Linked DNA regions of Homo sapiens: region 2 is linked to region 1. The links are contacts of gene promoters, found by promoter capture Hi-C in blood cells and fetal thymus (Javierre and others, 2016). All regions are on one chromosome and are shown on one strand. Each heading gives the region's core, a stretch centred on a gene start or on the middle of the fragment in contact. The rest is flanking DNA. Distances are from core to core; before and after follow the strand shown.

Evidence for each region. Contacts are between HindIII fragments. The CHiCAGO score rates a contact against its expected background, and 5 or more counts as called.
Region 2: a contact is called between a fragment that was not itself captured here and the fragment with the promoter of CCT8 in region 1, in 1 of 17 cell types (naive CD4 T cells). The highest score is 8.2, in naive CD4 T cells.

What each region holds. Positions count from the first base shown.
Region 1 is chr21:29,071,654-29,075,760 of GRCh38, forward strand. CCT8 (chaperonin containing TCP1 subunit 8) reads right to left here and starts at 1,995. Exons shown (of 15, transcript NM_006585.4): 1 at 1,878-1,995. The coding sequence starts at 1,937. RefSeq lists enhancers at 1,067-1,978, 1,431-1,600, 1,979-2,890, 2,051-2,220, 3,767-4,107. The HindIII fragment of the contact is 10,437 bases long and covers 319-4,107 here.
Region 2 is chr21:31,135,368-31,139,474 of GRCh38, forward strand. It overlaps TIAM1 (TIAM Rac1 associated GEF 1), which reads right to left. Exons shown (of 28, transcript NM_001353694.2): 23 at 566-674. Among named protein-coding and RNA genes, the nearest start is that of KRTAP19-8, 99 kb to the left of the region's middle. RefSeq lists an enhancer at 1,700-1,749. The HindIII fragment of the contact is 1,924 bases long and covers 697-2,620 here.

The DNA of each region.
Region 1 (4,107 bases), core at 745-3,244:
GGGATTACAGGTGTGAGCCACCAACCCCTGCCAATAGCCACTGCTTTAAAAGCATCTTCAGCAATAAGAACTGTTATTCCAGCAATAACACTTAAGTCTGAACTCCTGGCTTACACTCTTGCTTCTTCCCCTCACTCCCCATTCTGTGAGAAACTACCATTTGATCAGATCCCCTCATTCCCATACTTAAGACCCTTCAATGGTTTCCCAACCAGCTTAGGATAAAATGCAAATCCCTTTTCAAGGAAACAAGGCCCTACGTATCCCGGCCCTTGTATGGCTCCTCCTCTGAACTTACCATTCTTCCTTTCTTTGGTAAGCTTCAGCCCTACAACCTGTTGTTGTTGTTGTTGTTTTAAAAAAAAAACAGGTCAAAATCATTCCTTCCTCAGGGTCTTTGTACTAGTTAGTCCCTGAGCCTGGCATTTCCCCCTAAGTAAGAGGTCGGGGGAAACAGCCCAGGCTCAGGGGCTTCTCTCACTAAGCACTGAGCTAAGAGTTCTTCCCTAAACGTCTAAGTGTTCTGTCTATTCCTGATCCTTCTTTTACAGACATTTTTACCTCCTGTCATCCTCTACTATAGTGCAGTTTCTTTCATCATTATTTGGAATTCTCCTTTTATTTAATCATTATTTCTGCCTTAGAAGGACATAAACTCTACGACAAATGGGACTTTTGTCTTTCACTGCAGTTCCTTCAGTACCTATTTATTGAAAGAAATAGCTCAGTGTTCTGTAAAAAACTACTAGCACTGGAATGACAAATAATGTTTTGTGATACACGAGTTTTCCAAAACTGTATTAGTGAAAAAAACCCAAATTGGAAGCTATTATCTCAGCCTGATTTTTTCAAGGGAATCAGCCCATATCATTTTCAAAAGATTATTCCACCAACATTTACCTTGAACCCTGACATTTACTTACTATACCGACATTATTTGAAAAGTGCATCCTACAAACATGAACCTAGTTCTATTAAACTGTTAATGCTCCCCGTACCTCGCATAAAACCTTAAATTCAACCACACTGATCTATTTCTTGAATTAACAAAATCTGGAGGACACACAGAGGAATGCAATTTGAATAGCACAAGAGACAAATTTATCAATAGTGCAGTAAGATATTTTTTAAAACTATGCTACCGAACTAACGTTCAAGAAAAGGCCATTAAACAAAAGTGTTATCTGCACCCCTCTATCACTTATCCTGCAGATTACACAGAACTCAAAGACACCACCTCTTGGTCCAATCTCCATAATTTAAAGACGAAGGAAACAAAACCCAAGAAAGTTACATTTTAGATTAAGCCAGCTAACATAAGTTGGGACCGGAACTCATTTGGCTACAACGCATGGCTTCTGTCAACTAAGCTGAAAGCCGTATGTTTCTCACTGGGAAGCAAGCAACCAAGACCCGGCCCTTTTTCCCACTCTCTTCTCTGGATCGGCTAGTTCTCGTTCTTCCCCATCCTACAACTCGCGAGCTATGTGATAATCGACGTCGCAGTTCTCAAGACAATTTCATCTACGTTATTCAATTTCACCCTCACAACCTCCTTTAAGGGTGACGGGCCTTAGCCCCATTTACGGATGGAGGCAAAACGCACGCGCGGCTTCACATCCGTCCACCTTCAAGGTGTACAATGTCGATCGTGCCGCCGATCCCTCGGCCTTCTCCCGGTCGCGGAAGAAGAGAAGTGCCCGCAGGCTCCGGTGGCCGAGCCCTTCCAAAATCACCTCCCTTTCTGGAATCTTCTCTTCCCCCGGCCGCTGAGCCAGGGCAGCACGCTCAGCCCGTTAGTAGGCCCTCCTACTTCGCCGCGGCCGCCGCAGCCCTATGCTGACGCTCCCACCTCATTCCTTTCCTTCAGCCCTTACTTTCGCTCCCTCCTTGAGCATCTGGGCAAAGCCCGGAGCCTTGGGAACGTGAAGCGCCATGGCCAGCCTGCAGGAAGCAGTTCACGCGACCGCTCGGAAGACCGCGGAGGAAGCGAGGAGCACGCACAGCCTTCTGGGAAAGCAGCGTGGGGCCGCCTCACGCTCTTCCTGGCTCTCCAATTAGCCCACCCTTTCCCTGCCGCCAGGTCTGAAGCATCGCGAGAAGAGCAACCTCTGTGGCCAGAACCAAGCTGACGATCCCCGATCGGGTCGATCGATAGGGCGGGCCCAGGGAGCCCCTCGGGTTTCTGGCTCACGCACGCGCAGACAGCCCAGGCCGTGAGAGGTTGCTCCAGTCTGTGCTCTCTGACCGTAGTCAGTAGTCACGGCGTTAGATTTTTGCGGTTTTTGATCTGGAAGCCACACATCCTTAGCTTAATTTCCACGTATCTTCCAGACCCAGCCACCAACGTCAGGGCAGGTGTGCTTTTTTTTTCCCGAGGCAGAGCATCTGCCCCATCCCCCAAAATTGTCTCTAGGCGTCCGCTCTGTGTTGGGCACCATAGGAAGCGCTGGGAATGCGCACGATAATTAAAGTCGTCACTAAGAGTAATGTAGTACACATCAAGTGCTCAAGTGTGCCATATTCTGTGTGATCTGCTTTACATGCAGTATCTCTGTTAATGGTCAGTCTTAAAAATTAATGAATTGTCGGTTAAAATACCATTTAGTTTTCCTTCCATAAAATGGAGACGATACCATTAAAAATTAAAAATTAAATGGTACTGTCTCTATTTTGTAGAAGGGAAACTGAAGTTCACAAACTGTAAATAATTTTCCCAAGATCACAGAGCTAGTAAATATTAAAGCTAGAATTCCTATCTAGATCAGACTTATTGCAAAATGCCGGTTCTTAACCACTATCTATATTCCTCTTTTCTACTTCTTCCTGGGAATATAAATCCCTTTTACTCTTTTAAGATCAGATATAAATACATATTTATTTATCTGATTTATATATATAATATACACATTTTATATAAATATATCTGATTTATATATGAATTTATAGATAAATATAAATCCCTTTGGCTTGGTGGCATGCACCTGTAGTCTCAGCTGCTTGGGAGGCTAAGGTTGGAGGATCTGCTTGAGCCTGGGAGGTTGAGGCAGCAGTGAGCTGAGATCATGCCACTGCACTCCAGCCTGGGCAAGAGTGAGGCCCTGTCTCAAAAAAAAAAAAAAATTGCAAAAATGTAAATGCCACTGATATGGTTTGGATTTTTGCAAAAATGTAAATGCCACTGATATGTTTGAATTGCCTGCCCAAATATGATGTGGAATTATAATCCCCAGCTGTTCTTGTGATAGTGAGTGACTTCTCATAAGACCTGGTTGTTTAAAAGTGTGTGGCACCTCCCCACTCTGTCTCTTCCTCCTCCTCCAGCCTTGTAGGATGTGTCTGCTTCCCCTTCACCTTCCACCTTGATTGTCAGCTTCCTGAGGCTTCCCCAGCCATGCTTCCTGTACCGCCTGTGGAACTGTGAGCCAATTAAACCTCTTTTCTTTATAAATTACCCAGTCTCAGGTAGTTCTTTATAGCGATTCGAGAACGGACTAATACAGCCACCCTTTTCATTCTTGGAAAATAGAGATATTTTAAATAAAAACATACATATTATCATGTGATAGGATTATTATTTTTTAAATAACGTTAAAAATTTATCAGTTTTAATTTCTAATATAGCAAATATTCATACCTATAACCCACATAAACAAAAGACCTTTGGGGAAGTTAATTTTTAAGAGTCTAAAGGTGTTCTGAGACTGATACGTTAGAGAACTACTGTAATGATCAGTCCCGAACAACAGAACAATCCAAGATTTTTCCTGGATTAGCTAAGAAATAAACAAAAGCACATTCCTCTGACTCAGAGATAATATTACTTATAAAAATAGCTAACACAAAATAAAATTGAAATAAAACTGAAAGGAGCTAAAATGACACCTGATTAACATATTAATATATATTAATCTATATTTAAAGTGACTTTGAGGCCTAGGTTCTGGTCCTTGTCTCACTGGTATCTTCTCCATTTGGCATTAATGTCTTGTATTCTGGCCCCAGTACCTGGAATAGTTCGTGCTGTCTGCTTTACCACTTCTGCCTCAGGGTCTTTGCCTCTGCTGTTCTTCCTACCTAAAATGCTCTTCTATTCCCTTATGGCTG
Region 2 (4,107 bases), core at 409-2,908, 2.1 Mb after region 1:
CATTCGCAAACATCTCTAATTTCACTAGTATTGAGTGGCAATGCGATTGGGATGCACCTCACAGCTGATCCAGGCACTCCAGAGTTGCCACAACAGCTCAGCTGAGAACCAGCATCCTAAATCCTGGCCTTAAGACCAAACAGCAACAAAGTCAGGAAGCAAATAAAAGATCTAGGACTGGGGGGTCTCAGAAACAGAGGCCATTTTGTCTTGATTTTTCACTTTATTTTTCCTTGGTTTATAATTAACCCATTATTTTGAAAAGACACGCAGAGCAGCAGCCAAAAAAAAAAAAATTCTTTTCCTGCCTCTGTGTTTATGTCTGGGATAGACTTGGGCACAGCCATTTCCGCCCACCCATGTGGCTGAGTGACCACATAGGGCAATTTAACTCGAAGGTTTCATTTAGTGTTTGTGAGATGTTGGTGGCTACGGCAGGAAGACCGATTCAAGTAACTGCAATTAACTTTATTTTTAATCAATTGGGTCTTGAAAAAGAAATGTTCTTGTTTTGAAAACTAAGCTAGACTTTTCCCCCTCCATAAAACGCTTTTCTGATACACACCGAATGCTGCCAACTCTGGTTCCTTTTTCCACTTGCCCAGCGAGGCCGGCGGGTTCAGCCAGATCACGGTAGTGTGCAAAAGCAGGTCTCCCATGCTCAGATCTGCAACCTGAAAGCCAGAGACGTGACAAAGCTTACTGGGTGGTGTTATCAATACTCAGATTTTCATGATGTTTGAAAATTCAGCATGCTGATATTAATTTTACTTCAAGAAAATACTGCTCCTAAAAACATTTGCTTAAATATGTGAGATAATGCTAAGTTAAACTGCTGGATTTAGCCATTCCACAATGTAACATATCAAAACATCATGTTGTACACCATAAATATATAAAATTTTTACTTGTCAATTTCATGTTTTTGAGAAAAGAAATCGCACCAAAATGACAGACTACATTTTTTAAAAATATTTTCGATTTGTGACTGTCTCAATAAACACCACCTCCCATCAAAACAGGCTGAAGATACAATATCCAGTTAACCTTTCCAATGGGAAATAATAGTATCATTATGTTCTAGCCAAGTTTGAGCTAGGAACAATACAATGAAATTTTAACGAAAAAAAAAATCCTTTAATTCATATGAAATCTCCTAATTGAAAAATAAATCCTCTCCATTCCCAAAGAAACACATGGAATACAGGGGAGAGAAAAGGCTCATCTTTTTTTTCCCCATTTATTCCATGCTTGTCTACTAGAATTTCAGAAAAGGATGGCAAATAGGTACAAACTGGGGCTCTGAAATTCACATGCAGTTAGTCTGTCAAAACTGATCTACAAAACTGGAGATGTTTTGTGTTCAGAGACAGTTTCCCAAGGAGATGCTAATGGCCGTCCATGACAAAGATCCACCCCCAGATAACTGCAGACATTTCCACCAGTGAATATCCACTTTTGGGAAATGTAGGCAAATTATTTCTTCTTCCAATCCATTTCAAAGACGACTTTATTTCACTTTAGATGAGGGAGAGAGAAGCCAATAAAGAGTTTGAAGATTCCTCTATTGGCACAGGCAGCGTGAATGCTGGAATCCCAAGAGACCATGAGGTTTAGTCGCTCACCCCCAGCGGTCACACGCTAAACTGTCTCCGACAGACAAGTGCTGGTTGCAGAGCCATCTAGACACGATGATCCAGAGAGTCTGATGCAAGTTCAACGTCTATGCCTCACAACAGTCCCGTCTGCTTTTCTCACTGCAGTCACTGGCCTCCTTCCAAATCTAGCTGGGTTTCCTATACAGCAGCAACCTGGCGACCCGCCACTGAACACAGTGCAGTTTGGATTGCCCTTCTCGAGCCACCAAAACAGGCTACCGTGCTGAGATGTGGCTCCAGCAGTACAGGATACAGAGGTATTGTTGCCTCCCTTGATTGAAATTATTATAATCATCACTGTCATTATTACTAAGCTATAGTACCATTAGTACAATCAAGGGTTAAAATAATTTTTAAGCAGCCATATTATTTTGTCTATAGATATTAAGTAACTCATCAACCAAACCCCCAGGATATGATCAGCCAAGGTAATGACATAGTCTCCACTACCTATCCCCCGAAGACCCACATAGAAGAGGAGGAGTTACATACAAAAGACAAATTCCCAGAGGCCACAGCCCCTGGGAGTACGTCTTTAAAAGTGATTAAAGGCCAACATGGTAGACTGTCCAAACTCTACTTCTTCCAACAGAATTACATTATCTGCACCTTCTGCCATGTGATTTTCCAGCACCTCCCACTAGACTAGGCAGGGTACACACATCGCCGCCCGGATGACTTTGGGTGTAGGCATGTGACTTAGAGCCCACCTTCCAGCCATGGGAAGGACTTGCCCAAGACAGCCATTGCTGCTTCAGCCTGGATCCTGGAAGGAAGAGACAAGGAGCACACCAGAACCTTCAGAACTGGAGCTAACCAAGAGAAACCAAACCTTGGTTGACCTACAAAGCCACATACGAGATAAATATCTGTTGTAGAGAACCACTGAGATTTCCAGTTATTTGTTACACAACTGAAAATGGGCTGATGCTGTTCCTGTGCACAGGGTTTTTCTCTGGACAAGCTTCCCAGGGCAAGTGGACTAGGGGGTCAGGGTGCTCCCTCTGGCCACAGCCTCTCTCTGGGGCTTCCACTGGTTCCCTTCTGAATCCTCCTCCCAAACCCCAAGAAAGAGTTCTGCTGGGAGGCCTCCACCTTACTAAGGACTGGGATGCCCGACTGAGTCAGCATTTTTAAGGACTTCTTTTAAGGGGAAATGCCCTCTTGCATTCTTCTTCCTCCTAGTTAAGCAAAAGGGATTTCTTAGCCTAACTCCCCAGAGTTTAACATGGGGGTAGGAGGTTGAAGGCCCAGTTTCATCAAAAAGCTGTTTCTTTGCCAGCTTTGTTCTCTGTGAACCTATTTGCCTTCAGAGATATCTTAAGGAATGTTGGTTGAAGACCCAATTCAGGTACCTTGTGTTCCTAGAATGTTACCATTTTACAATAAACCTGCTGTTACCAGCAGATACTGATAAATGTTCCTATTCCTCTTTACAAACTTCATCAATCCATTCTAGGCTGTTACTTCACATTGCCACTAAGAGGGAACCACAAGGATCAGGAATTACTTTTGTGAAAATCTGAATATAATTTGGGTACCTCCACAATCACCCGCCTGAGTCTCCGTAATTCTTCCAATATACTGCTGAGAGCAGTGGAACAGAATTGTCATTGATCTTGGCACAGACCATCCTATTTCCCAAGACTCATTCTCCCTAGGGTTTTGTTCTTACGGCATTGAGGCTGCTGCATCCTTTCCAGTTTAAAGGCCATTCTCCTCAATGGAAGAAAAAGAGATGAAATGGGGCTTAAGACTTGAGTAAAACCAACTGCCTTGGAGTAATTGATTCCCACTGGGGGTCTATTTCCTGCTCGTTTGTCTTATCCTTCCACAACAATATCTTCTCTTGCTCTCTTTGGCATCTTTTCCAAGCCAGAAATTTTCTGGGCTTTGCACCTCCTGGTAAAAGTAGGATTTTCCTCCTCTTCAGTCCTGGTACTCAGCCAGTGTCCCTCCTTCCATCTTTTGCACATTTCTTTTTACAATCTCAGCCCACAAAAAATACTTTGTATAGCACTATATCACTTTGTTCCTCACTGGAAAGATTTCTTACATATCAGAATTTCATTTTAAAGGACTTCCAGGTTCACTGAAGCCATATTCCCTTTTACAGTCTCTGACTTCTGATCATATTCATCTTTTTTTCCTAAATTCTTTGCAACCCAATATCCATTTCGCCTTCTAATCTTTAGCATCATGGTCATTTGCTCCTAAGGTCATTACAATCTAATAATTAATTTGGCATATAAAGAAAATGTAATATGACGTAATGAAAATGTTCATTTCCATGGCCCAGTAAAATGCACTTCTGTCAGAATGAAATAAACCAAAGGATGGGAGGACTTCTTATAATAAAAAAAAGTTTACAGTATTATTCATATTAGTCAATAACAAAAAGCATTAAAATTCTGTGATCAACATAAAATCAAGGTATAAAATTACCTTC